2 separate regions of the Homo sapiens genome follow, and region 2 is linked to region 1. The links are contacts of gene promoters, found by promoter capture Hi-C in blood cells and fetal thymus (Javierre and others, 2016). All regions are on one chromosome and are shown on one strand. Each heading gives the region's core, a stretch centred on a gene start or on the middle of the fragment in contact. The rest is flanking DNA. Distances are from core to core; before and after follow the strand shown.

Region 1 (3,124 bases), core at 550-3,049:
AGAATGAAGCTTCCTGCAAATGTTGGATGTAAAAGTGCAGATCTAATCAGGTAAAATCTCAAGCATTAATTGGATATGCTTATAACAAACCGGTAAATTTTTAGAAGATGTAAAACATATCTTAGAAAAATAATTTAAATTATTAATGAGAATTAGACTAAGTCATTGAAATTTGATTTTTAAAACTTACCGAGCCTCTCTTTCATTGAACTCAGAAGTAGTGTGAATGGTAAGTCTTCCTTGTCAAATGGAATGCTACTTAGCAGCTGTCTTAGCTCGTTCCAGATGCTATAATAAAGCACCATAGACTGACTGACTGGTTTATAAACACACATTTATTTCTCACAGTTCTGGAGGCTAGAAGTCCAAGATCAGGGTGCCAGCATAGTTGGTTTCTGGTGAGGACCTTCTTCTGGTTTGCAAACTGATGTATTTTTGTATCCTCCTGTGGCAGAAAGATGGAGACAGCTCTCTGGGTCCCTTTTTTATAAGGGCACTAATCGCATTCATGCGGCCTCTATGCTATGAATTACCTCCCAAAGGCCCCATCTCCTAATACCATCACATTGGGGTTAGGATTTTAACAAATGAATTTAAGGGAAAGCACAAACATTCCGTCCACTGCAACATCTACAAAATAGGTCCTTAGGAAGTGCAGAAGTCTGGAACAGTTCTTTCCCAAGCCACAACCCTGAAAACATGGATTGCTGGGTATGCAGATTCTCCTGGGTCCCTTTCCCATAAACACCGAATTAGACACTCTGAGGATGCAGCCCAGACATTCTGTATTTTTCACCAGGCATAATGGTGATGGCTGATATTAGAATGGTGAAATTTATCCCACCTAGTAAGAATCTAAACTGAAAATGGTGATGATGCAAAAAAGATCTGTCAACCAGTTAAAAAAAAAAAAAAAAAAAGAGGGTGTGTGTTTGTCAGGAGGGATAGTCTTTAGTAGTATGGCCAAAAGCTTAAGCCTGATTTTCAGGGCTCTATTGTTGGAGTGGGTAGTTCATCAACTTCCTAAGTAATTCAAATCTTTTTCCCCCCAATATATTAATATATTGGTGATTCCAAGAAAGAGGGTTTAATTTATTTAATGCCTGGGAAAACTAAAAGAACTACAAACAGATGTGAAAGGAAGAGAATAACCACATCTCACAGGAAGCAAAATTTCTGTCAAAAGTTACTGTTCTTTCCCTGTCTAGGTTCTTTGTCCCTGAAAGGTAGATCCGCAAACTAAATCCCTCAATAACGTTGCCTAAACAGGACTGGGATCATAGAATGTCCAACACTAACATGAGTTCATAATGGCACAACGAACTTAAAATGTTACTATTCATGTTTTAATTATGATTGCAGTCTTACGTTGAAGGTATCTCCGCCGTCCTTAAACATAAAAAAAAAAAAAGGAAATACAAGCTGCAAAAGTTTTATGTAATGCACTCCACCCTCTTTTTTCCCCAAGCCAACACACACCCTTCAAACTTTTTGACAGTTATTTTCAGACCCCTCCTAGGCTCCCGAACTCCATGCAACTCCAGCAGTCTCCCCTGGGCCATTTTTAGCCTCTGCTCTGACCTGGCGGGAGGCTGGGTGTCCACCCTTTCCCCTGCAGTCCTGAAAGTCCGGTCCGAGCGCGGACGGGGCGGGGAGGGGCTGGGCGGGCCAGGCCAGCTCCATTGGCGCCAGGCGGGTGGGGGAATGCGCTGAGAGGACCCGTCCAGCTTGCTTAAAAGCCATCAGTTTTCTGACCCCGCATCGGTTCCAGGAAGAATACACCTATGTGACAAGCTAAGTTCTGCCTCATTTTGCATTTAGAAGCCACAAGAAAAACTTTTCGAAAACTTTTGTCCGTCTTTTGCTCCCCCGACGCGTGGTTTCCTGATGGTCCGTCCCCGGGCAGAGAGAGGGACGCCCCCTCCTCCTCCCCGCCTCTTGTGAGGCGCGCGGAGCCGCCTCCCCTGGGTCAGGTCTGATGGGCCGGTGGGCGCGCTAGTGGTGGCCGCCACCGCCGAAACCGTCGACCTCCTGGGCCCCAGTTCCGCGTCCAGCCCCGCGGCAGCATGGACTACCTGACGACGTTCACCGAGAAGAGTGGGCGCCTTCTGCGGGGCACGGCCAACCGCCTGTTGGGGTTCGGGGGCGGCGGCGAAGCCCGGCAGGTGCGCTTCGAAGATTACCTGAGGGAGCCAGCCCAGGGGGACCTCGGGTGCGGGTCCCCGCCCCACCGGCCCCCGGCGCCGTCCAGCCCGGAGGGACCTGGTGAGCCCACCTTTCTTTCGCCTCCCGCGCGGCCGACCTGGGCTGAGGGCTGTGGGGAGGCGGCGGTCGTGGCGCCGGGCGGGGGTCGCTGCCCGGCTCTGGCAGGTGTGCCTGGGCCGGGGCGGGCAACGTGGCCGGGGTGGCGGCCGCCGGGGGCGAGGAAGGAAGGACTCGTTCGGCTCTGGGGAGGGAAGACTTTCAGCTGCGTGCCAGCTCTTCCTGCTCTGCTCTTCCTGCTTTCCTCACCTAGACTTGATTTTCTTTCCCCGCCAAGTATTTCAAGGGGACGATCCATTCTCTCTTTCCCTCCCACTGGGAGGTGAAGACTGAACCAGTTATGACGTCCGTGTTTTCAGTCTTGGATTCTTGAAGAGCGCTGTGCCTGCTTTGGTTTTGGTTTGGGTCAGTCTTTCCTTAATATTTCTCAGTTGTTAGGATTCACTTCCTAACCGAAAAATAAAAAGCCAGATACTTCTTTGTAAAATAAAACACTTCATTAACATTGGAAGCTAGTTGACATTTTGCGTCGTGTACTTTTTGAACGGCTGCACGTTGTCTTGTGGTGGCAGAACCTAGAAACTTTCTCAGTTCCTGTTTATTTTGTGTTGTGTTGGCCGATTTTTTTCACCACAGTGGCTTTGTACCATTCTTTAAAACAGTCATTTGTAGCGACATGATATTGATAACTTAAAGAATTTTTGAAAGTGCTGCTGAACAGTTTTAGCATAATGCATAGGGTAACTTCCAGTGTCCTTGGCTTCGTTTAACAGGTAGCAGACATCCTAGCCATGTCTGATTTTTATTTTTGTTAATTGCTTTAATATTTGAGGGTTATGAAAATAAATGAGCATTAGAGAGT
Region 2 (2,976 bases), core at 459-2,958, 1.6 Mb after region 1:
AACACGGTGAAACCCTGTCTCTACTAAAAATACAAAAAATTAGCCGGGCGTGGTGGTGGGCGCCTGTAGTCCCAGCTACTCGGGAGGCTGAGGCAGGAGAATGACGTGAACCCAGGAGGTGGAACTTGCAGTGAGCCGAGATTGCGCCACTGCACTCCAGCCTGGGCCACAGAGCAAGACTCTGTCTCAAAAAAAAAGAAAAAAAAAAAAAAAAAAAAAAGGATGTCTGTAATGTTTTATTTATTAATCTGAGTGGTGGTCACATAAATGTATTCGCTATTCATTTTGAAAAAAATATGTATCATTGACCAGTACATTTATATTTGTGTACTTGTATGAATGAACGTCATATCTGATAAAAAATTTACCTAAAAAACCTTAACTTCTCATCACTTTGCCCTATAGAAACACTAATCTTAAATAAAAACATTCTTTTCCAAGCACGCTACCTCTCCCCACTCCACTAGTAACTTTTAATTTGCCACGTCTCTCTCCACAATAGATTCAATAGCCTTGCTCCTCTACCATCAGGTGTTACTGTCCTGTTCTCAAATCTACATATGCCTCTCAATTCTGCCTCATAAGCAGAAAGCAAATACTTCAGACTTTGTATCAAGAAGCAACAATTGAAAATACTATATAAGTACTCACATGAAAAACGAGAATCAAATTTCCACAATTTTTTAAAAATTTTGAAACAGAAATAATAACAGTAAAAGTTTTTGTAATACAGGTCTATTAATAAGAATAGAATGCTTTTTCAAGAGAAATTATTTCACTTAATTGGGGTATAAAGTTAATATTCTATAATTGCTAATGTTTGCAAATGTTCCTCTGTTACAAACTATTCTTAGCCCCAAAACCACACAAAAACAGGCTGCTATCTGATTCCCAGGCTATAGTCTGCTGATCCGTCGTCTATCAACCTCTTGAAAACATATTACTTTTTAACAGATTAAGAATCTTTTTTTGCTGTCTCTTCCTCTGCTGTCATTCAACACAAATATAATGCCATACTGATGACTCTTTAAAAGCTTGAGCCCTAAAATTCCTTTATTCCTCAAATTATGACAATTTTCATCATGTATCTCATCTCCAAGAATTCCAACTTAAAACTGATAACCCCTCATCTCCAAGAATTCCAACTTAAAACTGATAACCCCTTCCACCATTACCATTAAAATCTTCATCATCTCAGACTTTCTGCCCTTTCTAATTTTTGTAATACCCTTTTTGATGTCACTTTCTGCCTTAGTTTGGATATCATTTTTAGCTATTTCAAAGATTTTCTCTTCAGTTCTATCATTGATTCTTTCAAACTAATTTCTCCAACTATATACAATTCAGTGTCAATCACTAACTCTGGAAAAAAAGTCACCTATTCTCTAGGTTCTGGCTAAGGATGACTACAAAATGTTTCAAAATTAGGGAATAATGTTATTCGATCACATCTGTGCTTCTCTAAATGGCATTTACATACAAGCCTACCCCTAAATATGTCTATACTACTCCCATAGCCTTCTACCGCTCCTCGCCCTGAGAATGACCCCATTATTAGCTCTAAGGTATGATTTCCAATCTCAGTTGGGCCCTCCACACTTAACCAATCCTTGTACTTTCCTTTGATCAGTTTCTTAGTAACCATTTCCAGTCCTTACCTTACTCCTCAAAACCCTCACTGCCCCCCCCTCCCATCCCATACCAATACAGAATGGGCTAGTCTTCCAAAATAAAAAACATTTAGAGCCAAGGGTGGTGGCTCATGTCTGTAATCCCAGCACTTTGCGAGGCCAAGGTGGCAGATCACTTGAGTTCAGGAGTTTGAGACCAGCCTGGGTAACATGGTGAAACCCCATCTCTACAAAAAATACAAAAAAAATCAGCCGGACATGGTGGCGCACACCTGTAGTCCCAGCTACTTCTGGGGCTGAGGTGGGAGAATTGCTTGAGCCCAGAAAGTCAGGGCTGTAATGAGCTAAGATTGTGCCACTGCACTCCAGCTTAGGTGACAAAGCGAGACCCTGTCTCAAAACACAAAACATTAAGGAGTACTCACTCTGTCCCAGAAGAGCGTAGTGTTTTATATGCATTATCTCATGTAATTTTTCTAACCCGATGAGATTGGTGGTAGTATTAACATTTTATTCATGAGAAAAGGTTAAGAGGGTAAAAGAATCTGCTCTGACTGCACAGAGGTATTAAATGACCGAGTCATGAAAGGTCCAATTCAGAGCCCAGGGTCCTAAATATTTCACTATCTGGCCTTCTGCTTCACATGAAAATAAAGAAGAGTGAGAAACAAGTATGTATTCATTCAATCATTTATTAAACAATCATAAAAAGCCTTTATGCCAGACTCATATTATGTGCTGAGAGCACAAGGAAGCTTCTGCTCTCATGAAGCTTATATTCTCCAATGTACTACAAATATATGAAACTGTTTTTCTCTTGGTGCAATGTAATAGTCTCCCCTTATCCATGAGCTAAATGTTCCAAGACCCCCCAGCGGCTGCTGCCTGAAACTGCAGATAGCCCCAATCCTATATTTACTGTTTTTTTCCTATACATGCATACCTATGATAAAGTTTAATTTATAAACTGGGAACAAGAGATGAACAATAACAAAATAGAACAATTAAGTTAGCATATACAGTGTGGATACATTGGACAAAAGGATGATTCATGTCCCAGTTTTAAGCAAGAGAGCGAGACAGATTTCATCCTACTACCCAGAAGGGCGAACAATTTAAAACTTACGAATTGCTAATTTCTGGAATTTTCCATTTAATATTTTTGGACCATGAGTAACTGGAACTGCAGAAATTGAAACTGCTAAGGGGGTGTGGGGGGGGGGGGCTGCTGTATCCTCACATAGCAGGATCACTGACTCTATTCTAACCATTTTGCCTTCAAGACTCAAAGCCTCACCTCCTCAAAGTCCTCTTTGCTCACTGAAGATAACAAAATCTCAATTTT

Evidence for each region. The method cuts DNA at HindIII sites, captures the fragments that hold promoters and counts their contacts. A CHiCAGO score of 5 or more calls a contact.
Region 2: a contact is called between a fragment that was not itself captured here and the fragment with the promoter of OXR1-AS1 in region 1, in 7 of 17 cell types (total CD8 T cells, total CD4 T cells, non-activated CD4 T cells and 4 more). The highest score is 15.4, in total CD8 T cells.

What each region holds. Positions count from the first base shown.
Region 1 is chr8:106,655,921-106,659,044 of GRCh38, forward strand. It overlaps OXR1-AS1 (OXR1 antisense RNA 1), which reads right to left and starts at 1,800. Exons shown (of 3, transcript XR_007061059.1): 1 at 191-1,800. The region is part of intron 3 of OXR1 (oxidation resistance 1); the gene reads left to right. RefSeq lists an enhancer at 1,691-1,900 and silencers at 1,971-2,220, 2,261-2,410. The HindIII fragment of the contact is 2,439 bases long and covers 969-3,124 here.
Region 2 is chr8:108,243,441-108,246,416 of GRCh38, forward strand. The region is part of intron 1 of EIF3E (eukaryotic translation initiation factor 3 subunit E); the gene reads right to left. Among named protein-coding and RNA genes, the nearest start is that of EIF3E, 3.8 kb to the right of the region's middle. The HindIII fragment of the contact is 1,352 bases long and covers 1,033-2,384 here.